4 separate regions of the Homo sapiens genome follow, and all the other regions are linked to region 4. The links are contacts of gene promoters, found by promoter capture Hi-C in blood cells and fetal thymus (Javierre and others, 2016). All regions are on one chromosome and are shown on one strand. The core of a region is centred on a gene start or on the middle of the fragment in contact, and the rest is flanking DNA. Distances in the headings are between cores, read along the strand shown.

Region 1 (7,001 bases), core at 3,979-6,478, 230 kb after region 4:
ACTGCCCTCGTTTCCCATCTCCATTTTTTCTTTTTTTTTTTGAGACGGCGTCTCGCTCTGTCTCCCAGGCTGGAGTGCAGTGGCGCGATCTCTGCTTGCTGAAACCTTTGCCTCCCAGGTTCAAGGATTCTCCTGCCTCAGCCTCTGAGTAGCTGGGATTACAGGCATGCGCCACCACACCCGGCTAATTTTTGTATTTTTAGTAGAGACGGGGTTTCGCCATGTTGGCCAGGCTGGTCTTGAACTCCTGACAAGTGACCCACCCGACTCAGCCTCCGAAAGTGCTGAGATTACAGGCGTGAGCCCCCGCACCGGCCCCATCTCCATTTTCTTTTCCCATCCATGATCTTTCCTCTTCCATACTGCCGCCAGCCATAGGCCTTGTTCAGCTTACATTTCCTTCCAATCTTCTTATCCCCCTCTTCCCCATTCTGCCCGCCCAAGTAAACCCTCCTCGGCTCTACTGGGAGCCCCCACCCCCAGGATCCAGCCAGCCCGGTGTCTCCCACCCTTCTTTCCCATCCAGAGCCCTCCTTTCTCACCCAGAACCTATTTTCCCTAGAATTGGCACCTGGGCCCACCTCGTTCATCCCTTCTTAAGGTTCCTCACGCGTTCCCTCCTCTCTCTCCTCACTGACGTTTCCTCTGGACTTCTCTCTCTCCAGCATTCCTTCATCCCCCCACCCCCAATTCTTATATTTATGACTCTTTTGTCAACACTAATCACCCCCAAAAGCTTTACTTTTTCCAGAAGCCCCATCTTTCTATATATGTCATCTTTTCAATTTTTCTCTCTCCTTATGACCCCAAACTTCCATCCCATTCTCTCTGATAATAGCCCCCAAACCCGTCTGGCTCCATCTCTGCCACAGATCCCTCACCCCAAGCTTCTCTCACTTCTCACCAGGCACCCACAAAGCCCCCAGGCAGCTCCATCTTTCCAATCCAATCCCATTATCCCAATCTCTACCCCAGGATCCCCCAAACTCCTCCCACTTCACCTCTGCCACAGACCCGCTCGCCCCCAAACTTCAGCCTCCCCTCATCTGCCCTCACCACCCACAGCCCCTCCTACCTAGCCCTCTCCCGCGCCGGGCCCGCGGGCTCCCCACATTCCGCCACGGCTAGCCCTCCCCGCGCCCCGGCCCCCTCGGCCTCGGCCTCGGCCAACTCGCGCTGCGCCTCCCCCTCTCCGGCTCCCCCTCTCTCCCCCCTCGCGGCTTGCCTCGCGCTCCCTCCCTCGCGTCTCCCTCCTGGCCCCTCTCTCCTCCGTTCCTCCGCGCTCCCTCCTTCTCCCTCTTCCTCCCTTCTCCCATCCCCCTCTCCCAGGCTCCCTCCCTTCGCCGTCCGCTTTCCTGTGCGAGTCGCCGGACGCACCGCCCAGCCCGTCCGCAGCCCCGCGCCGGGTCGGGGCCTCGGGCCGGGCCATTTCGGAGGGACCGCGGCTTCGGGGAGGGGCTAGGAGGGGGGAGAGGGAGCCGACTGCCGGGGAAGGGGCGGGGGCCGCGGGCGAGGCGGCCGAGGGGCCCGGGATCGCGCGGGTGCGGGCTGCGCTAGGCGGGCGCGGGCGGCGGCGGGTCGGAACCGCGCCGAGGGCCGGGCGGGCCGCGGGGCCGGGCGGCGCGGCGGGGGCGGGCGGCGCGGCCCGGGGCATTCCGGGCGGCCAGGGGGAGGCGGCGAGCCCGGGGAGGTGGGGAGCAGAGCGGGGATCGGGGTTTGCTCCGGGGGCCGGCGGGCGATTGGGGCCAGGCGGGGAAAAGGGGGGATGGGGGCCGCCCTCCGGGGGGGTCGGGGCCGCCGCCGCCGTCGTCGCGGCGGCGACTGAGGCCGAGAAGAGGAGAGGGGGGCGGGGGAGCTGCCGCCGCCGCCCCCCAGAGGCGCCGGAGCCCGGAATCCCGCTCGGAGCCAGCCAGCCGTCCCGAGCTACCAGCAGGTAAGGTCTGCGGCCGCCTGGGCCCCGGGCCCGCGGGGTTCTGTCCCGCCCGGGCTCCGGCCTGCGGCTCCCCACCCCCACCCCTCCCAGTTCCCCCTCCTGCCGCCGCCGCCTCCATTTGTTATTTTCCCAATCCCGTCCCCCCACTGCGGGCTCTGCCTGGCCTGAGGGCCGGGGGCTCAGGGGGTGGGGCCCGCCGAGGAGAGTCGGGGGCCAGGGTTTCGGGAGGATCGGGAAGGTGGGGAAGGAGGGAGGGTCTCCGGAGGAGGCCTGTGGGGCCAGAGGGTATCCGGGACCCGCAGACTCAAAAGAGGAGGAACATCGAGGCCGGGGTTGGCGGAGGAAAACGGGGGATGCTGTGAGTGGGGTTCCGGGCGAAGGCAGAATGGATAGGAGAGATGGCAGCGAGGTGGGGCATGAAGCCTCCAGGAAAAAGCTCCAAAGGACCAGAACACGGGTTCCGGAGCCTGGGGTTGGGGGCTTTAGGAATAGACGGGAAGTGGGAAACGGGAAAGGGGTGTGGTAGGTGGAAAGAGGGATTGTGGCTGATGAACCTGGGGGAGACGGAGGCTTGGGCAAAGAGAGGTCCATTTTTGAGAAGAGCCGGAGGTTTTCCAGCGTGGAAGAGGGAAGGCCATGTCTTTGTGACGGTTTTCATTCCCCTACTGCAGGTCACCTCTGACCCTGTTTTCCCTATCCCAGACATAGTTATTTCTTGGAGAGGGCACTGGGGCCCAGTAGTGTGGGTTATCCCAAAACTAGTGAGGAGGAAAACAGGAACACAGAAGGGGGAGTTGGGAAGAAAGGGGTTCTGGGAGGATGGAAATGGAGAATTGAGCAACCTTACAGGCACTCCAGGCAAGTTGCGACCTCCACCCTCCACCCTCCAATTTCCGGAGCGTCCGCTGCCCCTGGAGCTGTGATCTATATAGGGAGGCCTTAGTTACTGCTTTGAGCTCAAAGATCTCCCTTTGTGCATGGGCTTATTTTGACTAGGGTAGGTACCTTCAAGCTCCCTTACCTGAGGTGCTATAGGAGGGTAGGAGTTGCTTTGGCAACTGGGGTAGGGGGTAGCTGCCAGATGGACACCTGGGATGGTCTCTTGAGGGGCACCTTTTGCCACTGTGTTGCTATGGTAGTGATCCAGTGGGATGTCAGATTGGTTGGGGGGGCTTCGAATGTTTATTGGACCTCAGCCTGTGGCTGTCCTTGGGACTCTGGGCTGGGTTTTGGAGGTTGTTTCTGGATCTGTTGGTGGTTGGGAGTTTCCCCACGGTGTGCACCCTTTCATGTTGAAGTCTGTTGGAACAGGTAGATACGTTCCTTGCAGATCATAGGTGTTTCTCCAAGTCTCTCCACCTGGGCATGATGGGAGGATGAAAACGCTTCTGTTCAGGTTACACCATCTTTTGGCAGTTGGTTCTGACCTCTACCTCCCTTATTATGTTATTTTTTGTAGAGTTGTCTTTTTGCTTCTTTGCACTTTCTTTCATTTTCTAAAACTTGAATTCCTCTTTGAGCCTCCCTTCTTGAGTAACCCTTTTCCTCTTTCCCTCAACTAACCTTTGGCCTTCTTCCCTGACCTTGTAGAAATGGCTGGGCTCCCAGGCCCATCCCAGGTGAGGGTGGCCCAGGACAGAGGGCTGTGAAACAGCTTCATGCAGGGGAAATACTATAGAACAGGAGCCAGGAGACCTGTGTCTAGACCTGGCTGTGCCTCTGTGACCTTGGGCAAGTCACTTCTCTTTGAGCCTGGGCTTCATTGTTAAGATGAAGGGGCTATAGATGAGATGATCTCTGAGGCCTCTCTGAAGGTCCCGGATTCTCAGAAGGCTTAGGCCAGTGCATCGTTATCTGCTGGTCTGGGCTGCATTGTTATCTAGGAGTCACTTTGGACTGGTTTGTTAGTCTGGCAGGTCCAGAATGATGTTGGGGGCTGGGCCAATGATCCTGAAATTTAGCCTGCGAGCCCCTCCCAGAGAGCTTGTGACTCCACTGTATTCCTTCTGACATCCCATATTTCTCTCTTAATTTCTTTTCCTGTTCTTACTTAGGGGCTCTTTTTCTAGTTCTCACTTTCCTCCCAACCCAGTCTGGTCTTAATCATTTTCTTTTTAAAGTAAGGTAATGGCAGTGCGCAGTGGCTCACGCCTGTAATCCCAGCACTTTGGGAGGCTGAGGCGGGCGGATCACGAGGTCAGGCGATTGAGACCATCCTGGCTAACACGGTGAAACCCCGTCTCTAGTAAAAATACAAAAAAATTAGCCGGGCGTGGTGGCGGGCGCCTGTAGTCCCAGCTACTCAGGAGGCTGAGGCAGGAGAATGGCGTGAACCCGGGAGGTGGAGCTTGCAGTGAGCCGAGCCGAGATCGCGGCACGGCACTCCAGCCTGGGTGACAGAGTGAGACTCCGTCTCAATAAATAAATAAATAAATAAATAAATAAAATAAAGCAAGGTAATGAAGGTGAATGTGCTTAGTATGTGGCCAGATACAGAGTAGGTGCTCTGTAATATTAGTTACAGTGATTGCCTGCTAGGAGTGTAGGCTGGTGCTAAAACATGACCCAGGTCTAGAAAGACACACAATCCACCCCTAACTCCTTTCCTCGTCTGCCACTCCTTATCCCCAGGATTACTTGTTCTTTTATGACTGCTTTTCTCCTTCAAAGCTTCTCATTGCTAGTTTTTATCAGATTTCAGGTGATTAAAAAAGAAGGGCATACTATGATTGCTGTGTTCCTCAGGTACATTCCTGTGTTTCTCTGACCTTTTGGATCCCCTAACCTAACTGACTTGGTGAACAGGTTCTGTGATGGGGAAGGGAGATGGACACCCTTCTCTAGGAGGGCTGGCAAAAATACACCAATCACAAATAGTCATCTTTGTTGTGCTTTTTGTTTAAGATTGTTTTCCTCTTTTGCTATGGTGGGTGTTGTTCTTCGGATTTTTTTTTTTTTTTGGTTGATAGTATTTTAAAACCAGTCTACATAACAACTAAAAAATGTGGGAAAATAGCTGTAGTTGAAAAAAAAAAAAAAAAAAAAAAGGCCGGGCATGGTGGCTCACGCCTGTAATCCCAACACTTTAGGAGGCTGAGGCAGGTGGATCATCTGAGGTCAGGAGTTCGAGACCAGCCTGGTCAACATGGTGAAACTCCGTCTCTACTAAAAATACAAAAATTAGCCAGGTGTGGTGGTGTGCGCTTGTAATCCCAGCTACTTGGGAGGCTGAGGCAGGAGAATCGCTTGAACCTGGGAGGCGGAGGTGGCAGTGAGCTGAGATCATGCCATAGCACCTCCAGCCTGGGGAACAAGAGCAAAGATCCATCTCAAAAAAAAAAAAAAGGAAAAAAAAAGAAAACTAGTTGGCCGGGCACAGTGGCTCACGCCTGTAATCCCAGCACTTGGGAAGGCCGAGGCAGGCAGATCACCTGAGGTCAGTAGTTCGAGACCACCCTGACTAACATGGTGAAACCCTGTCTCTACTAAAAATACAAAAAATTAGCCGGGTGTGGTGGTGCATGCCTGTAATCCCAGCTATTCAGGAGGCTGAGGCAGGAGAATCGCTTGAACCTGGGAGGCAGAGGTTGCAGTGAGTGAGATCACGCCACTGCACTCCAGCCTGGGCAACAAGAGTGAAACTCTGTCTCAAAAAAAAAAAAAAAAAAAAAAAAAAAGACAAGTCTACTGGGCAGAGCATCAGTTGAAAGTTCAGAAGATAGGCTCTGTCCCAGCAATTTTGTGATTCTAAGTAAATTGTGAAGTTTCCTGGAAAGGTTAGACTCACCCCTTACTGCCTGCATCAGTATGGTTCCGTGGAGGTGAGTGAGAATTACTGTGTTTCTTGGGAAAAAATACACTACAGAATATGGACATGCCGTTTACCTAGCAGGCCTCCAACTCAGAATAGAATACATGGGTAAGCTTAGTCTGTTCCCACTGGAGCTAGCAGCACTTAATTCAGGAAGAAAGACCTACTGATGTTAGTGGGTTTAAAGGTCAATCACAAGAAGAGCGCACACACATCAGTGGAAAGGAAGAAAACAGTAAGAAAATACCATTTTTGCTCTCAAAAGATCTTACAATCAGTAATTTGGAGGGACTTGACACTTAGCAAGAAATACAAACAAGTGCAAATGAATACAGCTGGCTATAGGGATTTGGATAAAGATAGATACCTGCTGATAGACAGATACGGATGGATTGGCTGTGAGAAACTGTGTAACCCAGTCTACACCAAGTAGGAGGATAGGCTTAAAAACTGGTACATCTGTGTTGTTTGCTCACGGATATTTTGAGTCTTTAATCATTCATGTGAAAACCCTGACTTTTCCTCTAGCCTTAGGGAGCTCAAGTACTAGAGAATGGGTCCTTTATGGGGCTCTCAAAAATGAAGTTCTACAATTTGGGGCTACCTAGGTTTAGTCTTGGGATTGGTAGGGCTGTGTTCCTTTGTATTATAGAATGGGACATTCTTCTTCTACCTACTCTGATGTGAGAAAAGATTCTTTTCATATCTCTGTGACTGATCTAGGCCTTCTGAGAATTCTCCCCAGCAACTTCTGAGGAGAATACAGCAAAGTATAGAAGAAAGAGCATGGGCTTTGAAGTCACCGACATGGGTTTGATTCTGGCTCTGTCACTGGTTCCTCACTGTGTGAGGTTGGGCTAGTCACAATCACAATCTTTGAGCCTCAGTTCCCTCACCTATATAATGAGGGTAATAATGCTTACCATTCAGGGTTGGTTGTAAATATTAAATGAAATCATGTATGTGAAGGGCTTGATATAAAGAAGGTATTCAATAAATTCATACTTCAATGTCATTTCTTTTTTCTTTTTTTTTTTTTGAGACAGAGTCTTACTCTGTCACCCAGGCTGGAGTGCAGTGGCATGATCTCGGCTCACTGCAACCTCTGCCTCCCAGGTTCAAGTGATTTGCTTGCCTCAGCCTCCTGAGTAGCTGGGATTACAGGCACGTGCCACCACGCCTGGCTGGGTTTCACCATGTTGGCTAGGCTGGTCTTGAACTCCTGACCTTGTGGTCCATCCACCTAGGCCTCCCAAA
Region 2 (6,414 bases), core at 727-3,226, 180 kb before region 4:
TTTTTTTTTTTTTTTTTTTTTTTGAGATGGAGTCTCACTCACTCTGTTGCCCAGGCTGCAGTACAGTGACACGATCTTGGCTCACTGCAACCTCTGCCTCCCAGGTTCAAGCAATTCTCGTGCCTCAGCCTCCCAAGTAGCTGGGACCACAGGCGCGCACCACCACACCGCACTAATTTTTTTATTTTTAGTAGAGACAGGGTTTCACCATATTGGCCAGGCTGGTCTTGAACTCCTGACCTCAGGTGATCCACCCATCTCAGCCTCCCAAAGTGCCATGATTACAGGCGTGAGCCACCGCACTCGGCTGCCAACAAGTATTCTTAAACCTCAGCCACAAGTTATTTGTTATTTATTTACTTCTTACCTAATTGGGCTGAATTTTTTTTTTGGAGACGGAGTCTTGCTCTGTTGCCCAGGCTGGAGTGCAGTGGTGCGATCTTGGCTCACTGCAACCTCCACCTCCTGGGTTCACGCCATTCTCCTGCCTCAGCCTCCCGAGTAGCTGGGACTACAGGCGCCCGCCACCACGCCCGGCTAATTTTTTTTTTTATATTTTTAGTAGAGACGGGGTTTCACCGTGTTAGCCAGGATGGTCTCAATCTCCTGACCTCGTGATCCGCCTGCCTCGGCCTCCCAAAGTGCTGGGATTACAGGCTTGAGCCACCGTGCCCGGCTTGGGCTGTTTTTAGAAGGCTAGAGAGTGGCTTGTTTGCCCTATGACTCCCTTATGTTACTTTAGTGTCTCTCTTTTTATTTTGCTAAAGCAAAAATAGAGACTATAGTTTTATAAGTGCATGTTCCACCAAGCATTCTAGTATTTTCTCCTGTCAATTAGAAAAGGATTGTTTGTTTTTGAGACAGAATCTCACTGTTGCCCAGGCTGGAGTACAGTAGCGCAATCACAGCTCACTGCAGCCTCTCACTGTAGCCTCAACCCTGCTGGGCTCAAGCGATCTCCCACATTAGCCTCCTGAGTAGCCTGGTTAATTTATTTATAATTTGTAGCTGGGATTACAGGTACACACCACCAGGCCTGGCCTTTGCCAGCCTGGGCAACGTGGCAAGAAGATAACATGTAGACAAGCAGTCAAACATGTATTCTTTTTTTCCCCCTTTTATATGACTGATAGAATTCTCTGCCCACTGATCTACCATCTTGTTTTTTTCACTTAACTATGTGTCTCAGTGGTTTTTAAAAATATTTATGGCTGGGTGCAATGGCTCATGCCTGTAATCCCAGCTACTTGGGAGGCTGAGGCAGGAGAATTGCTTGAACCCAGGAAGCAGAGGTTGCAGTGAGCTGAGATTGCTCCGCTACACTCTACCCTGGGTGACAGAGGAAGAGTCCATCTCAAAAAAAAAAAAAAATTTATAGATGGCCAGGTGCAGTGGCTCACACCTGTAATCCCAGCACCTTGGGAGCCCAAAGCTGGTGGATCTCTTGAGGCCAGGAGTTTGAGGCCAGCCTGGCCAACGTGGCGAAATGGCGAAACCCATCTCTGCTAAAATTACAAAAATTGGCCAGGTATGGTGGCACGTACCTGTAATCCTAGCTATTTGGGGAGCTGAGGCATGAGAATCACTCAAACCTAGGAAGCAGAGGTTATAGTGAGCCAAGATCATGCCACTACACTTCAGCCTGGGTGACAGAACAAGACTCTGTCTCTAAAAAAAAAAATATATATATATATATACACATATATATTTATACATAAATAGTTTCCCACTCTCCTCTTTTTTTGAGAGAGAGAGTGTCTCACTCTTTTGCCCATGCTGGAGTACAGTGGTATGATCACAACTCACTGCAGCTTTGATCTCCCAGGCTCAAGTGATCCTCCCACCTCAGCTCCCTCGAGTAGCTGAGACCACAGGCACACACCATTACACCCACAGGCACACACCATCACACCCACAGGCACACACCATCACACCCACAGGCATACACCATCACACCCACAGGCACACACCATCACACCCGGCTAACTTTTTTTACTTTTTGTATAGTTGGGTCTCCCTGTGTTGCCCAGACTGATCTCAAATTCCTGGGCTCACGTGTCCCCATTATTTTTTATGACTACATAGAATCTTATTGTCTGGATGTGCCTGAATTAACTAATTATTGAAAGTTTATTGTTTCTAAACTTAGGAAAGTTTTTAAACAGGTGTTTGGAGTAGGTTTATGATTTTAAAACTTTAAAAAGCCTTATTGGAGTTTTTTTGAAGACTGTAGTAATGCCTTGTAGGTTCAGAAATAGGAAAAGTGTTTGCAGATGAGCAGTCAGGGGAAAAAAATAGGCAAAGTGTTTTGAGCCCTACCCCTTAGTAGGTGCTGTAACAACTTTTTAAGCATGTTAAGTGCTCCTTTTCTCTGGGCAGTAGGTCCAGGGACTTGATAGAATCATGAGGTAAGCTCCCTTACAAACGGCTGCAGTGACATTCTTCTGGGTACTGACAGGCTGGTGTTCTTTCAGAAAGGCCATCATTCTCACTCGAGAAGCCACAGGCCACTTCCAGGAGTCCGAACCCTTCAGTCATATAGACCCAGAGGAGTCAGAGGAGACCAGGCTCTTGAATATCTTAGGACTTATCTTCAAAGGTAATCATTTTCCTTCTTCAGTCAATAAATAACACATGTCAACTGGTATTTACTGAGCATTAACTTTATGCCATCATTGGCCTGGTTAACAGAACCTGGTGCTGAAGAGCCCAGAGATGAATTGGCATTACTTTTGCTCTGGAATGGAAGCAGCCCACGGGCCTAAGATTGATAGTCACAGGGTGACTGTCCAGACCATAGCGGTCTTTAGGTATGGTTTTTGAGAAATTTAGATATTTTAGAGTAAGTTTTAATTTCATATCTTCACATTGTGAAAAGAGATATCCAGGGCCAGATGTCGTGGCTTATGCCTGTAATCCTAACACTTTGGGAGGCCAAGGCAGGAGGATTGCTTGAGCCCAGGAGTTGAAAATCAGCCTGAGCAACATGACGAAACCCCCATCTCTACAAGGGATACCAAAAAAAAATTAGCCAGGTGCGGTGGCACGCACCTGTAGTCCCAACTGCTCAGGAGCTGAAGTGAGAGAATCACCTTAGCCCGGGGAAGTTGAGGCTGCAGTGAGCGGTGATCATTGCCACTGCACAGCCTAGGCAACAGAGTGAGACCCCATCTCAAAAGAAAAGAAGAAGGAAAATAAATAAGTAAATATCCAGGAATGTTGACAGCTGTTGGATTCCCCTGTATCCCCTTGAACGAAACCATCCTGTACTTCTCTAACTCCTTAGGCCCAGCAGCTTCCACACAAGAAAAGAATCCCCGGGAGTCTACAGGAAACATGGTCACAGGACAGACTGTCTGTAAAAATAAACCCAATATGTCGGATCCTGAGGAATCCAGGGGAAATGATGAACTAGTGAAGCAGGAGATGCTGGTACAGTATCTGCAGGATGCCTACAGCTTCTCCCGGAAGATTACAGAGGCCATTGGCATCATCAGCAAGATGATGTATGAAAACACAACTACAGGTATGCCAGAGTCCCTTTCTATAAGGACAGCCTTGGGGTTCTTTTGGATTTTTTAATTTTTTAAATTTTTATTAACAATAGAGATGGGGCCTTCCTTTGTTGCTCAGGCTGGTCTCCAACTCCTGGGCTCAGGCAATTCTTCTGCGTCAGCCTCCCAAAGTGCTGGTATTACAGGTGTGAGCCACTGCACCCGGCCATGGATCTTGGAGTTCTTTTCCATATTTTATTGATATATCTATCTGCTCCTTTAAAAGGCAGGGGTTCTCGGCTGGGCGCGATGGCTCATGCCTGTAATCCCTACAAAACTGGGAGGCCAAAGCAGGAAGACAGGTTGAGGCCAGGAGTTCGAGAGCAGCCTGGGCAACATAGCAAGACCCCATCTCTACAAAGAAACAAAAACTAACTGGGCGTGATGGCACGCACCTGTAGTTCCAGCTACTCGGAAGGCTGGGCAGGAGGATTGCTTGAGCCCGGGAGTTTGAGGCTACAGTGAGCTGTGGTCATGCCACTGCACTCTAGCCGGAGCAACAGAATAAGAACCTGTGTCTTAAGAAAAGAAAAAAAAAAGGCAGGGGTTCTTTTTTTCTGTTTGCTTCCTCTAGCCACTTACAGCTTATACATTTTAATGCATATAGTATTTCATGATAAGGCATCATAGGAGGAGTCGACATTCTCAGGGAAAATGCGGAAGGCCTCCATTTGCATCTTGCTACATTCAGAAAGGTTCTGTCGTTAGGTATTGGGGGAGTTTTGTGAAGTAGATAGGTGACATTTGTACATGTTCTCTCAGTGGTGCAGGAGGTGATTGAATTCTTTGTGATGGTCTTCCAATTTGGGGTACCCCAGGCCCTGTTTGGGGTGCGCCGTATGCTGCCTCTCATCTGGTCTAAGGAGCCTGGTGTCCGGGAAGCCGTGCTTAATGCCTACCGCCAACTCTACCTCAACCCCAAAGGGGACTCTGCCAGGTATATGGGGTGCTTTTGCCTTTGCTGACTTTTCCAAGGTCAGCTTCTCACAGGACTTCCCTTGTCTCCTAAAGGAAGAGGTGCATTTCTCCAGGGGAGTTCCAGATCCATAGGCAGTCCATCATAGTGGGGCTTAGGGTGGGGCTCGGTTTCCAGGGAGAGCAGTTTTGTAGCACTGTGGTGGGATAGCCCTAATCACTGTTTGCCAAGTTCAGCTTCCCAATCTTATAGTGACCGCTGATCTCTGCTGTTCCCACAGAGCCAAGGCCCAGGCTTTGATTCAGAATCTCTCTCTGCTGCTAGTGGATGCCTCGGTTGGGACCATTCAGTGTCTTGAGGAAATTGTAAGGCTTCCTGCTTTCTCTTTCTTTATTCATTCAACAAGTATTTTGGTTGTTTTTTTTTTTTTTTTTGAGACGGAGTCATGCCCCATTGCCCAGGCTGGAGTGCAATGGCACAATCTTGGCTCACTGCAACCTCCGCCTCCCAGGTTCAAGCAATTCTCCTGCCTCAGCCTCCCGAGTAACTGGAATTACATGCATGTGCCACCATGCCCGACTAGTTTTTTGTATCTTTAGTAGAGACGGGGTTTCACCATGTTGGCCGAGCTGGTCTCGAACCCTTGACCTCGTGATCCACCCGCCTCAACCTCCCAGAGTGCTGGGATTACAGGCGTGAGCCAAAGCGCCCGGCAACAAGTATTATTGAGTTATTACTATGTATTTAGCAATTTACTTAGCTCCAGAAAGAAGTATAAGACTATTTGCTTTCATGTTCCCAACTTTAAAGGAACCAACAGTCTAGTTGGTAGTGAAAAACCACAGAACATTTTTAGAACAATGCAGCAGGTAGATAATAAAGTGCCAGAATGAGTTGTACGGGTAATGGTTGTCATAGCAATAATAACAACCTCACTTATATGGTATTGAATATATGACAGGCACTCACACGTTACTCACAGTAACTTGTTTAATCCTCACGACAGCCCTGTGAGGTAGCATTATCTGCATTTTACAATGAGAAATCTGAGGCACAGAGAAGTTACTGAACTTGGCTGGTTACAGCTAGTTAGTGGCAAAGTTTGAGATTCAAACTCAGGCAATAAGAGCTCTAGAAAACATACTCTTAACTTCTGTGTTCTACTGAGGGATACAGAGTAGGAAAGAGAGCGGTTTGGGGTAGAATGGTCAAGGAAGCTTCCTGAAGGTGGTAGGACTTAAGCTGGGTCTTGAAAGATGAGTAGGATTTAGAGAATCAGAGCAAGGAGGGAGGGCATTTCAAACAGAACCCAAGAAAGAGCACAGTTCACATTGTAGAACAAAGAAGACTGTGTTCTGGTTCAAATTATCTGGAAAAGACCAGGCGCGATGGCTCACGTCTGTAATCCCAGCACTTTGGGAGGCCAAGGCAGCAGATTACCTGAGGTCTGAGGTCAGGAGTTCGAGACCAGCCTGGTCAACATGGCGAAACCCCACCTTTACTAAAAATACAAAAAAATTAGCCAGGTGTGGTGGTGGGCACCTGTAGTCCCAGCTACTTGGGAGGCTGAGGCAGGACAGTTGCTTGAACCCAGGAGGTGGAGGTAGCAGTGAGCCGAGATTGCGCCACTGCACTCCAGCCTGGGCGACAGAGGGAGACTCTGTCTCAAAAAAAAAAAAAAAAAAAAAAATCTGGAAAAGATAATAAAGTTGTGAATGTAGGTTGGAACTAAACTGTGGAAGTCCCTGAATGACTTCAGGAGTCTAGGACTTTAACTGTGTTAGCCAGGCACCCAGCATTTTAGTGAGACATTCTGCTTTGTAGCATTTGCATTGCGGGCACAGAGAGTGGAGGTGGCGCTGGGAAGCGTGCTCCTGCCAGCCACATTTTTCTCCTCACTGGGGAAAAGAAAAGAGCCTGGTGGTGGTGATTGGCCATGATGTC
Region 3 (6,414 bases), core at 703-3,202, 210 kb after region 4:
ATTAGCTGCGTGTGGTGGCAGGCACCTGTAGTCCCAGCTACTCGGGAGGCTGAGGCAGGAGAATGGCGTGAACCCAGGAGGCGGGGCTTGCAGTGAGCCGAGATTGCGCCACTGCACTCCAGCCTGGGCAACAGAGCTAGACTCTGTTTCAAAAAAAAAAAAAGAAAGAATCACAGTCAGAAAGAGGGAGTGGGGGGAAAGATTAGCGCTTTCTCTTGGAGCAGGTGAAAAGACGGCTGGAGAAGTTCCTGAGACCTGCCCCTGAGGCCCAGCACACCCAACTTTATAACAAAAGACTGCAAGAAGGGCTATTATGGGGGTTATAAGCTAGGGACTGTGGATGAAAACCGATATATATATTATATATTATATAATTATATATTATATATAAATATATATTATATATTATATAATTATATATTATATATAATATATAATTACATATAATATATAATATATAATTATATATTATATATTATATATTATATATAAAATATATAATATATAATTATATATTATATATAATATATAATTATATATAATATATATAATTAGATATAATATATAATTATATATTATATATAATTATATATAATATATTATATATAATTATATATAATACATAAATATATATAATAGTATATATTATATATAATATATATAATATATAAATATATATAATAGTATATTATATATAATATATTTTATATAATATATAAATATTATATATAATAGTATATTATATATAATATATAAATATTATATATAATAGTATATAATATATAATATATAATATATATTTTATATATTATATAATATATTATATATTATATATATAATAACTCCACAGGAAGCCACTGAAATATTTAGTCTTTTAGACTCTTAAGCTTCGTTATTCTGGGATGGTGCTGATGCCAATCCTCAGTGGTGGCCTGGGGGCTCCTGGGCCGGGTAGGGGTGGGTTGAAGCATCTCCTCCATCCCAAGTGGCTTTGATGGGGCGAATGGTAGAGGGTTACTGCTGACCTTTCTCTGGGATGGCAGCTTCTCCTGAACTTCTTTACTTTCTATACTGATCTCTACTCACCCCCACTCCTTTCTTCCACTCCTCCCTCTCTACCTCTTGGATTTCCTCTTTTGCTTTATCTCATTCTGACTTCTCTTTCTTCCCTATCCCTGCTCCCTCTCAATCAATCCACTGTGCCCTGGGGGTCTAGGCCCAAAACATGCTGAAGAAGGTGGAAGGCTTGGAGGATCTGAGCAATCTCACCACCTTGCATCTTCGAGACAACCAGATTGACACCCTGAGTGGCTTCTCCAGAGAAATGAAATCATTGCAGTACCTCAACCTGAGGTATGCACCCTCTCCAAGCCCCACCTTGCCCCTACCCCTGACCAGGTGCAGCTTTTGAGTCTGTGTTCTTCCCTGGCCCAATCCCCCAGTCCTAGCCCACAGCTGGATTCTCAAGGAAAGCCCGGCTTTCCTTCCTTTCTTCTGCACTGAGTTGCAACACTAAATCCCTTATAGCTTGTGACCCCTGAATTTTTATTCATTCAATCCACAATTATTGAGAATGTGCTATGTGCCAGGCCTTGTGCTGTGTTTTGGGGACATTTAAAGCAATCAGAGGCTGGGCATGGTGGTTCATGCCTGTACTCCCAGCACTTTAGGAGGAAGGATCACTTGAGGCCAGGAGTTCAGGACCAGCCTGGGCAACCTAGTGAGACCATGTTTCTACAGAAGTGAAAATAATGGCCCGGCATGGTGGCTCACACCTGTAGTTCTAGCACTTTGGGAAGCCGAAGTGGGCAGATCGTTGGAGCCTAGGAGTTCAAGACCAGTCTGGGCAACATGGCAAAATCCCATCTCTACCAAAAATACAAAAATTAGCCAGGCATGGTGACAGGCACCTGTAATCCCAGCTACTCAGGAGACTTAGGCGGGAGGATCGCTGGAGCCTCGAGGTGGAGTTTGCAGTGAGCTGAGATAAAGCCGCTGCACTCCAGCCTGGGTGACAGAGCCAGACCCTGCCTCAAAAACAAAACAAAAATAAAATATTAAATAAAAATTAAAATATTAAATTAAAAATAAAAATTAACTGAGCCTGGTGGTGCACACCTGTGGTTTCAGCTACTCAGGAGGCTGAGGTTGGAGGATCACTTGAGCCCAGGAGTTCAAGGTTGCAGTGAGCCATGATTGTGCCACTGCACTCCAGCCTGGGTGACAGAGTGAGCTGTCTCTAAAAGAAAGAAAGGAATCAGAGGTGATTCCTGTTCCTAAGGGGCTCACAGTCTGGCTCCAACTCTTTTTTCCTCACCCTATCCTATATAAGTTTCCACTGCCCTTCTCCATTTCCTCGGTCCCAATTCACCTTCCCATTTCCTGCCTCTCTTCTCCTGAGCCCCACCTGTAAGGGATGACCTTTTTACTGATTAAAAAAACACAAGATGTGCTCAGATTTGAGGAGAGAAGGACATTTGTAAGAAAATCTTTTGGTAGAAAGGCACTGAAGATCAGCAACTCTTGTCGGATGGAGGACTTTATGTGTGTTTATTTCAGCAAACATGTAAGGAAACTGCCTCTTTCCTTAGTCAACAAGACCAGATTCTTGAGCTGGTAATGGAAAGAGCATCTCCAAGTAGGGAGAGGTGGTTGCATCTGGAAGCCCCAACTCTCATCCTGACCCCCTGGGCATTCTCTTATTCATGAACTCTGCCACACGGATCTGGTGGGGTGTGTATCTGTGCCATCTTCCTGTTAATGATCTAGACAGGCATGATGGACCCTTCCTGAGTGGCTATTAAATGGGGATGTTTTGAGAGTAAGTCGGGTGTGTGTGTGGAGGGGGGTGAGGGTGTCTCAATGATTGGCAGGTGCCTCTGGGGCCAGAGATGCTAAGCATCCAACAATGTATGGCAGAGTCCAGTACAAAGTTCCTGTAGCCCTCCTGGTGAGAAACACTGCATGAGGCTCAGCACGACCATGAGATCAGGCTGAAACACTTAAATAGATTTCATAAAAGCTTAAAGCCAGAACATGAAAATAAATAAAATTCCAGGCATGGTGGCTCACGCCTGTAATCCCAGCACTTTGGGGGGGCCAAGGCAAGAGGACTGCTTGAGGCCAGGCGTTCAAGACAAACCTGGGCAACATAGTGAGACCCAGTCTCTACAAAAAATTTAAACATTAGCCAGGTGTGGTGGCACATGCCTGGAGGTACTTAGGAAGCTAAGGTGAGAGGATCACTTGAGCCCAGGAATTCAAGGCTGCAGTGAGCTATGATCATGCCACTGCACCCCCAACCGGGGTGACATAGTGAGACCCTGTCTCAATAAAAATAAAATAAAAACAGAGTATCATATAATGAGGCACATTAGGAGATGAAGTTTATTCTTCAGGTTGGGAGGCTCCAACCCATCCATAGCCTTAGGTTCTCTTTGTGGAGAGCACGAACCGAGCATCCACCACCCTAAACTCCAGCTTAGATCCCAGTTCCTTGTCCACTGACCTAGGTCCTACAGGGTGGAGTGCAGTGGCTCGATCTCGGCTCACTGTAATCTCAAACTCCTGGGGTCAAGCAATCCCTCCTCCTCAGCTAAGTAGCAAGGACTACAGGTGTATGCCATCACGCCCAGCTAATTTTTTTATTTTTAGCTTTTGTACAGATGGGGTCTCGCTATGTTGCCCAGGCTGGGTCCTACCTTCTACCCTCCATTTAGGTGTGATCACAGAAAATGTCTCTCCCTGTGAGGAAAATTTGCCCTCTCCTCCCCAGCTACAAGACAGGGTTGTGGCCTAGCTTTGCTGCACCAAAAGAACACATGAATGTATTACAGAGTAGAATATGGCACTTAGGGATTCCTTGAAGGGCAGAAGCAGGACCAGAGCGGGGTCACACAGCACCTCTGCAGTAAATCTGGCAAGGCTTGGCAGGCCAGTCCTCACAGTGTTTCTAGGGACACTGGAACCCCGAGAGTCCCCCAGAGGCCCCATTCCTAGCAACTGGCAACCAAAGCCCATTATTCCTGCATGAACCCCTCCTGACCACACTGGCAGGGGCAACATGGTGGCCAACCTGGGGGAGCTGGCCAAGCTTCGAGACCTGCCCAAGCTGCGAGCGTTGGTGCTGCTTGATAACCCATGCACGGACGAAACCAGCTACCGCCAGGAGGCCCTGGTGCAGATGCCATACCTTGAACGCCTGGACAAGGAATTCTATGAGGAGGAGGAACGGGCTGAGGCTGATGTGATTCGACAGAGGCTGAAGGAAGAAAAGGAGCAGGAGCCTGAGCCCCAGCGTGACCTGGAACCCGAACAGTCATTGATCTAGCAGCAGTTCTAGCCTCTAAAGATAGTAAGGAAGCCTGCAGGGAGGCAGTGGGAGGAGGCCAAGGGCTGGGCAGGTAGGGGAAGAGGCAAGAGGGGAAGCTGCTGCAGAAGGAGGTGGGAGAGGAAAGCATCAGACAAGCAGGACCCTTAAAGAGAGGAGGGTTAGGAGTCAGGGAGAGGAAAAGGGACCCAAGGGGCCTGGGACCAGCTGAGAAAGACTTAGGAGGCCAGAAGAGTAAGTGAAAAGAATTGGGGTGGCAGGCAGAGGAGTTGGTGGGGGGTGGGGCAGCCATACCTGACACAGAGTGAAGTCGGCTAGGAAAGGACAGGTGTGGGTGCATGGTAGGGGCTGCAGGGGAAAGTTGGTGGTGTATGCAGCTGGACCTAGGAGAGAAGCAGGAGAGGAAGATCCAGCACAAAAAATCTGAAGCTAAAAACAGGACACAGAGATGGGGGAAGAAAAGAGGGCAGAGTGAGGCAAAAAGAGACTGAAGAGATGAGGGTGGCCGCCAGGCACTTTAGATAGGGGAGAGGCTTTATTTACCTCTGTTTGTTTTTTTTTTTTTTTTTTTTTTTTTTTTGCGAGGTAGTCTTGCTTAGTCTCCAGGCTGGAGTGCAGTGGCACAATCTCAGCTCACTGCAACTTCCACCTCCTGGGTTCAAGCAATTCTCCTGCCTCAGCCTCCCGAGTAGCTGGGACTACAGGCGCATGCAACCGCGCCTGGCTAATTTTTGTATTTTTAGTAGAAACGGGGTTTCACCACGTTAGCCAGGATGGTCTGGATCTCCTGACCTCGTGATCTGCCCGCCTCCGCCTTCCAAAGTGCTGGGATTACAGGGGTGAGCCACAGCGCCTGGTCCCTATTTACTTCTGTCTTCTACCTCCAGGAGATCAAAGACGCTGGCCTTCAGACCTGATCAGACTCCCAGGGGCAGCCACCACATGTATGACAGAGAACAGAGGATGCCTGTTTTTGCCCCAAAGCTGGAAATTCATCACAACCTGAGGCCCAGGATCTGCTCTGTGCCGGTCCTCTGGGCAGTGTGGGGTGCAGAATGGGGTGCCTAGGCCTGAGCGTTGCCTGGAGCCTAGGCCGGGGGCCGCCCTCGGGCAGGCGTGGGTGAGAGCCAAGACCGCGTGGGCCGCGGGGTGCTGGTAGGAGTGGTTGGAGAGACTTGCGAAGGCGGCTGGGGTGTTCGGATTTCCAATAAAGAAACAGAGTGATGCTCCTGTGTCTGACCGGGTTTGTGAGACATTGAGGCTGTCTTGGGCTTCACTGGCAGTGTGGGCCTTCGTACCCGGGCTACAGGGGTGCGGCTCTGCCTGTTACTGTCGAGTGGGTCGGGCCGTGGGTATGAGCGCTTGTGTGCGCTGGGGCCAGGTCGTGGGTGCCCCCACCCTTCCCCCATCCTCCTCCCTTCCCCACTCCACCCTCGTCGGTCCCCCACCCGCGCTCGTACGTGCGCCTCCGCCGGCAGCTCCTGACTCATCGGGGGCTCCGGGTCACATGCGCCCGCGCGGCCCTATAGGCGCCTCCTCCGCCCGCCGCCCGGGAGCCGCAGCCGCCGCCGCCACTGCCACTCCCGCTCTCTCAGCGCCGCCGTCGCCACCGCCACCGCCACCGCCACTACCACCGTCTGAGTCTGCAGTCCCGAGGTGAAGCCCCCGCCAGGCCCAGAGCCCCTGTGGCCCCCTCCCTTCGCCGCGGCGCCCCTGCCTCCTTTACCCGGTGCCGCTGCGCACCTCTCCGCATCTCTGGCCCGGTGCAGCTGCGCACCTGCTCCGCCGCCCGCGCCCAGGGCGCCTTCCCTCCCTGGCCTTCCCCGCCCGCTGCCTTCGCTTTCTGGCCCTCTGCGCGCCTATCTCTAACTGCGCCTCTCCACCCTTGCCTGCCTCTCTCCCGGTGCTCGCCCTCATCTACGGTTCTATTTGTTTCTAAGTTGGGAGCCTCTCCGGGCGGTGCATTTTTATCCTAGAGCGTCCCTTTTGGTTTGCATTTGGGGAAATGTCTTCTCTCACCGTTCCTCACCTCCCCCAGACTTCCCTTGGACTCCCCTCTCTCCTGCTCTTCCCCACGGCGCCCC
Region 4 (6,809 bases), core at 2,691-5,190:
TCCATCAGCACTCCCTGAGCCAAGACATCTCCCGGGTAGTGCCCTTCATTCATGGCATTCTCTGCCCAGAATACTCCCACTCTCTTTTCAAGGGCCAGCTCAAATGTCAGTTCTCTGAAGGTGTCCTGATCCCCAAGCAGGAGGAGACTCTCACTTCTCTTTTTTTGTAAATCATGCTGCACATGCCTCTATTAAAGCATTTATTACGATGACTCCTCTCCAAGTCCTTTCATGTCTGTCTGCTCCAGTGGACCTGAACTCCGAGAGGGTGTCTTTATCTCTGCATCCTGTGCCAGTATAGTGCCTGACACATTTGTTGAAGGAGCTAACAGACAAGGCCTCTATTTCTGCCCCTTGGTGTCTTCACCCAGCCTCCCCATCCGTCATATCCCTCCCAGCCTTTCCCACTCACCTTCCCCACGGCCCCCGAACAGGAATGGCCGCAGGGTGGCAGGTGCCTCTCCAAGGATAAGCCCATCTCCATCACCTCGCATGGAGTCTGAGTTGGGGTGTGGGGTTGCGAGCCCATGAGGGGCTGCAAAACCATAGTCCAGAAATCCGGGATTGGCAGAGTTGGGGTCCCCTCCATCCTCTCGAGACACGGTGGGACCCCACACGATAGCCCAGGGGTATTGGGATGAGGGCGGCCCCTCCTCAAAGCCTGATGGGGTGGCTGGGGGTGCAGTGCCAGGCAGGACTTGCCGACGTGATCTTGGGACCCGAGGAGATCGGCTTGGTGGAGGTGCTCGCTCCCACACGCACACATGACGTGGGGCCGAGGGGCCTCCCCTGGCACACGGGGGGCGGGCTGGGGCTGGTGGGGTTCGAGGGGAGGATGAAGAGCCCTGAGCAGGCGGTGGGAGGGGCAGCAACAGCAGTGGCCAGAGAGGGAGGAGGTGGGACAGCAGCAGCGCAGGCCTGCAAGAAGGGAGAGAGCGTGGCTGAGACACAGGCCTACTGTGGGCCTATGTGAGGGAGGGACAGGTTCACACCAGAAACCTCCAGGTTTCCCTGTGAAAGCAGGTGGGCCTTGGGAAGACTCGCCTCATTTCCCATCTTCCAAAGGAGGATGGCCCTCAGGATGGGAAGGCTCTGGATGGGTCTAGGAAGGAAGGAGTCATGGCCCCAGGGAATGTGGTCTCCAGGCTCCCTCTGCTGGGCCAAACTTACCACATCCTGGACTCCATGTCTGAGGTCTTCCTCAGCTGTGACCCAGATTTTCAGCCTTTACTGGGAGAAAAAGGGGGCCGTCACACCCCAGCCCTGCCCTGTGTACTTCCCCAGCTAATTCATCCACCAATTCTACCCGCATCTGCCCTCCCAGGCCACCCAGCTGCCAGCTATGCGGCTGCACCCAGGATTCACTGGTTGTTAGCATCCTTTTGGGGGAAAAACTCCAGCGTGGTTGCCTGACCAGACTCCAGCCCCATCTACAACTTCTCAGGTCCCTGTTACCTCTCCACCCCAGGGTCTACTCTGGCTTCTCTGATTTCCCTTCTTCTCACTTCCTCTGCCCACAGCTCCAGGCTTTTCTTGGATCTTAATTTAGAGCCAAGAACCTTGTGATTCCTTGAGCACCTACCGCTAGGGAGGGAGTCTGAGGGTAGGGGGAGGGATGGGGAAGTCAATCTGAGCAAGCCAGTGAGTGTGTGTACGTGCAGGGGGGCCCTTCCAGCCCTCCCAGCCCTCCCACCCCTCTGGCAGTGCCAGGCATTTGTCTTATGATTAGCCCCAGGAGTCTGCATCTTCAGGAGAAAGGAATGAAGAGCTGGAGGGATGGAAGGAAAGAGACAGAAAGAGAGAGGTGAGTGGGAGAAAAACTACAGAATATAATTTTTGCTCTTAATGTTTAATCATCCAAGTGCATAGGTGCCCTCTGAAGGGAGGTGGAGTCAGGAAGAAACCACCCCCTCAAATGTGGCTCTCCTGGGTAAAGAATCCTGGGAAAATCGGGATGGTTGGTTTTGAAAGAGAAAGGGTGTGTTCTCAGAGCTGAGGGTGGTGGATCCAGGAGGGGCAGGCTCCCCAGAGGGAGTGAAGATAGGATACCCGTTTCCTGTGGATTCTGGGTCTAAATCTGCCCAATGGGCCAGACGCAGTGGCTCACGCCTGTAATCCTAGCACTTTGGGAAGCCAAGGCGGGTGGATCACCTGAGATCAGGAGTTCGAGACTAGCTTGGCCAACATAGTGAAACCCCGTGTCTACTAAAAATACAAAAATTAGCCGGGGGTAGTGGTGGGCGCCTGCAATCCCAGCTATTCAGAGGGCTGAGGCAGAAGAATCCCTTGAACCTGGGAGGCGGAGGTTGCAGTGAGCTGAGATCACACCATTGCACTCCAGTCTGGGCAACAAGAGCGAGACTCCGACTCAAAAAATAAAATAAATAAATCTGCCCATTGAATCTTCCCAGAGAACAACAAGGGAACAAGATGGGAAAGTCACGGGAAGGGCGTGGGGAAGCAGGCAGTGGGAGAGATGGGAAGGGGTGAAGGGCTGGGAGATGGAAGGCTGGTTAAGAGTGAGAGAGGAGAAATGTGAAGAGGAAGCTGGCCTGGAGTGCAGGGTGAGAGAGAGCAGGCAGTCCTGAAAAAGAGAGAACTGGGAAGAGAGGAGGAGAGTGGGTACAGAAGACTCGAACTGTGGAGGATGCCGAAGGGAGGAAAGGATGAGAGAAAAGGTCAGGGAGGGGAAACGGAGAGGATGAAGGGGTCACAGGTGCAGGGGAAGAAGGGGCAGGAGGAGAAGGAGAGAGCGGTCCAGGCAGGACAGCCAGAGGAGTGGAGAGTAAGGGGATGGGAGAAAAGGGGGGAAAGCCCAGGATGGGGAGAAAGGAAGTGGGGAAGGAGAGAACATAAATGCTTAAGGAAAAATGACACGAGGAACGGGCTGGGAAGCAGAGGCGGGAGCAGCAAAGATGGAGGAGTTCGGAATTGCTCCCCCAAATGTAAAGGGATGTGGAGATACCGAAAGACATAGGGATGGGGGCATGGTGGGAAGAAGGGAGAGAGAGGGGAAAGGAAGAAAGCTAGAGGGAGGGAGCGAGGCGTGTAGAGCGAACCAGTGAAGCGGAGAAGGGCTCCCAGGGCGCATCTGTGGCCAGCTGACTCTAGGACTATCGCCCCTCCGCCTGTGCATCCCCACCCCCAGCCAGCGCCAACCCAGTCCCTGGGCCCCGCACAGCTTCAGCCGCCCCCTCCAGGAAGCCCGCAGTCCCCGGGCTGGCGCGCCACCCCCACCCCTCTCCCAGCTTCTCACCGACCTGTTGTGCGCAGGAGACGAGCTGGGGGTGGGGCAGGAGCCTCGGGGTGCGGGAGCCGGGCCCCAGCCCCAGCGTGGCCCCCATCCCACCCATCCCGCAGGCCCGCACTCCCCGCACAGGGCTGGAGAGCGGCGAGAGTGGGGGGAGACGAGGAAAAGGAGGTCGGCGAAGGGACCCCGAGGCAGGGAGTGCCGAGAGCGGACTGGGGACCCGAAGCAGGAGACTGCGCGGAGCCGCCCGCCGAGCCGAGGCGGGATGGAGGCAGCCGCGGGGACGGGGACGGCTGCGCCAGGGAGGGCGGGAGCGAGCCAGGACCGCGGAGGGATGGAGAGCCCTTCGGGGAAGGGGCGCTGGGAGGCTGGAGGCCTTGTCCCGGGCGAGGGACCGCGTCGGGAGGGGCAGGAGGCGCAGGGCGCGGAGCCGGGAAGGGCAGGGCCGGGCTCCCCGCGGGTGGGGGCGTGGGGGTCCCTCTCACTCACCTGCATGCTTGGCGCGGCGGCGCGACGACTGCGGGCGCTCGGGACTGAGCGGGGCTGGGGGGTCGCAGGAGCGGGCGGGGTGCGGGGCATGGTGGGGAGGTTTGGCCCGCGGCAGGGCGCTGGAGCGGGTGGGGGGCGGGCGCCTGGGGCGCGGGGCGGCGGCGGTGGGAGATGCTCGCCTCGGCTCGGCTCGGCTCGGCTCGGCTGGGCTCGGCGCGGCGGCTGGGACCGCTCCGTCTCCGTCTCCGCCTCCCCCCCGCGCCGGAGGCCACGCACGGTTTAACCCTCCTGCTGCCGCGCTGCAGGAGTCAAGCCAGGCTATGTCCCAGGTGGAGGGCTGAAGAGGCTGGCAGGGTCCAGCGACCGTCCGCTTCCCTGGGTTCTGATGGCAGTCTCCCCACCTCCTTCACCCCAACTCCAGGGACACCCATGGTCGCCTCAGTCAGTTTCTGAGATTCTGAGTCACTCAATGCTCTGCATTCCCAACTTTGTTCTTTTGTATTGTGTTTTGTAGAGATGAGGTCTCGCTGTGTTGCCCAGCCCGGTCTCGAACGCCTGGGCTCAAGCGATCCTTCCCGCTCAGCTTCCCGGAGTGCTGGGATTACAGGCGTGAGTCACCACTGCCTGTCCCCCAACTTGGTTTTGCCCGCTGTAGAAAGTGCCTGAGGTCAAGGCTGGGGGCAAGGGGTGGAGGAAAGGACTGGGGAGGAAGGACCTTGCACCATCTTTGGATTATCCCCACAGCTTGATCCCCTATTTCACTCTGGCCCTGCTACCATGCATTAAGTGGATCACGTCGAAATTCCTGGGCTTTTCCAGCACTGGAATACCTAGACTCCGTGCTGTGACTTACAAGACCCTATATAACCTGGCTCTTAGGTGGCTCTCTGATTGCCTTTCCTAAAGATTTCTATGCTTCAGCCACATGGGACCTGGTGGATTTCCTGGTTGGAGACAGGTTTAACCTGCCTCAGGGCCTTTGCACTTGCTGTTCCCTCAGTAATACATTTCCCTGGCTTTTCACAATGACTTACTGTTTTCATTCCAGTCTCACTTAGATCCAACGCCTTCTGGGAGGCCTTCCCTAATGTCTCTATCAAAAGTAGCCTCTCCTGCCCCTTCTCCCACCACCTGGATCCCATCCCTCTCTACCACACTACGCTGTTTTTCCTCAGGGCACTTCCAGGACACCACACTCTCCTCATTTCCCTCCAACCTCACTGACTGTTCTTAGTCTTCCTCGGGTGACCTCTAAATGTTGGAGCCTCCTAGGGCTTAGTCCTTGGCCATTCTCTCTTTCCACATTCTCTGTCCAGTGATCTCATCCGGTCCCAGGGCTTAAATACTATGTAAATGTCAGTGAGTCCTAAATTTATATCCAGAGCGCCAGACTCATTTATCCGACAGCCTACTTGACATCTCCACTTGGATGTCTAATAGCCATGCAAAGCTAACTTGACTAAAATAGATGTCTTGAATTCCCCCACCCCCAATCCATTTTTCTCCCAGTGATCCCCATCCTGAGGCTTCACAACTACTAGTTGTTCAGGCTAAAAATCTAGGAAACATCCCTCCCTTCCCCTTTTTTTCACTGATTCTCTCCCTGTATCTAATTCACCAACAAGTCCTGTGGGCTCTGCGTCCAAAATATATCCCGAATTCATCTCCTTCTATCTTTATTGCTATAGTCTTGGTCTAAGCCATCATGTCTCATCCAGATTATCATAATAGCTTCCTCACTGGTCCCTGCTTCTGCCCTTGTCTTTACAAACTAGTTTTTCCTATATTGATAATATTTTAAAAATCAAAAGCATGTCATGCTCTTCTCTGCTTAAAATATTCGAGTGGTTTTTCATTACACTTGGAATAAATCTGAACTCCTTGTAAGGAGAAGCCCACCAGCCTGTACCCACCTCATACACAGTGCTCCTGCTGGATCAGACTACTTGCTGTTCTGTAACATCAGAAGTCATTCTCTTAGCATCCCTGCACTTTTTTTTTTTCTCGAGACAGTGTGTCTCTCTGTTGCCCAGGCTGGAGTGCAATGGCACGATCTCAGTTTACTGCAACCTCCGCCTCCCAGGGTCAAGCAATTCTCCTGCCTCAGCTTCCCAAGTAGCTAGCGTGTGCATGCAGGGGGGCCCTTCCAGCCTTCCCAGCCCTCCCACCCCTCTGGCAGTGCCCACTAGTGCCCTGCTAATTTTTGTATTTTTTGTAGAGACAGGGTTTCACCATGTTGGCCAGGCTAGTCTTGAACTCCTGACCTCAAATGATCCACCAGCCTTGGCCTCACGAAGTTCTGAGATTACAGGCGTGAGCCACTGCGCCCGGCCCCTCCACTTTTGATTCCCTCTTCCTGGAATGTTTTGCCACCCCTCTCCCCATCTTCACCTGGTTGGCTCCTTCATCCCTGCTCAAAATCTAAAGTGGCCCCCACTCTGTTTCCTCATTATGTTTCATTGTCTTTCCAACTCATCACTTTCTATTTGTTTATTTATTTATTGAGATGGAGTTTTGCTCTCGCAGCCCAGGCTGGAGTGCGATGGTGCAATCTTGGCTCACCGCAACCTCTGCCTCCTGGGTTCAAGCGATTCTCCTGCCTCAGCCTCCCAAATAGCTGGGATTACAGGTGCACACCACCATGCCTGGCTAATTTTTGTAATTTTAGTGGAGACGGGGTTTCACCATGTTGGCCAGGCTGGTCTCGAACTCCTGACCTCAGGTGATCCTCCCACCTCGGCCTCCCAAAGTGCTGGGATTACAGGCGTGAGCCGCCACGCCTGGCCCGACTCATCACTTTCTGAAATGATCATATATGTGTTTACTATTTACTGTCTGCTCTCTCCTGCCCCCCTATACATTAGAGAGCCAAGATCTTATTTGTCTTGTTTACCGTGTATCCCTACTCCTACTGCAGTGCCTTGGAATGTAGTAGATGCTCAACATGTACCACTTAATGAACTTCTTCTGGGACCCCTGCCCACTCTGAACTCTTTTAATTCTCTCCTCTGCTGTCCTCCAGCCATTCCTCTCTAGCTGCCTGCCCCCTACTGATCTCTGCCCTACGCCA

Evidence for each region. The method cuts DNA at HindIII sites, captures the fragments that hold promoters and counts their contacts. A CHiCAGO score of 5 or more calls a contact.
Region 1: a fragment that was not itself captured here is called in contact with the fragment with the promoter of PIANP in region 4 in 1 of 17 cell types (non-activated CD4 T cells); the score reaches 5.7 in non-activated CD4 T cells.
Region 2: a contact is called between a fragment that was not itself captured here and the fragment with the promoter of PIANP in region 4, in 1 of 17 cell types (monocytes). The highest score is 5.3, in monocytes.
Region 3: a contact is called between a fragment that was not itself captured here and the fragment with the promoter of PIANP in region 4, in 1 of 17 cell types (naive CD4 T cells). The highest score is 5.3, in naive CD4 T cells.

The regions. Positions count from the first base shown.
Region 1 is chr12:6,926,452-6,933,452 of GRCh38, forward strand. ATN1 (atrophin 1) reads left to right here and starts at 1,508. Exons shown (of 10, transcript NM_001940.4): 1 at 1,508-1,933. It overlaps LOC124902868 (a long non-coding RNA gene), which reads right to left and starts at 1,245. Exons shown (of 2, transcript XR_007063194.1): 1 at 1,076-1,245. RefSeq lists an enhancer at 1-92 and silencers at 1,117-1,166, 1,347-1,506. The HindIII fragment of the contact is 1,254 bases long and covers 4,602-5,855 here.
Region 2 is chr12:6,518,512-6,524,925 of GRCh38, forward strand. It overlaps NCAPD2 (non-SMC condensin I complex subunit D2), which reads left to right. Exons shown (of 32, transcript NM_014865.4): 14 at 2,475-2,599; 15 at 3,287-3,526; 16 at 4,317-4,491; 17 at 4,751-4,835. Among named protein-coding and RNA genes, the nearest start is that of GAPDH-DT, 13 kb to the right of the region's middle. The HindIII fragment of the contact is 7,418 bases long and covers 1-5,685 here.
Region 3 is chr12:6,908,674-6,915,087 of GRCh38, forward strand. It overlaps LRRC23 (leucine rich repeat containing 23), which reads left to right. Exons shown (of 8, transcript NM_001135217.2): 6 at 1,217-1,353; 7 at 4,057-4,354; 8 at 5,218-5,556. The coding sequence ends at 4,330. ENO2 (enolase 2) reads left to right here and starts at 5,907. Exons shown (of 12, transcript NM_001975.3): 1 at 5,907-5,986. RefSeq lists enhancers at 5,310-5,379, 5,410-5,579, 6,258-6,414 and silencers at 5,690-6,179, 5,711-5,901. The HindIII fragment of the contact is 2,135 bases long and covers 886-3,020 here.
Region 4 is chr12:6,696,875-6,703,683 of GRCh38, forward strand. It overlaps PIANP (PILR alpha associated neural protein), which reads right to left and starts at 3,941. Exons shown (of 5, transcript NM_001244014.2): 1 at 3,740-3,941; 2 at 1,171-1,230; 3 at 413-918. The coding sequence starts at 1,187. RefSeq lists enhancers at 1-17, 2,721-3,222. The HindIII fragment of the contact is 12,862 bases long and covers 1-6,809 here.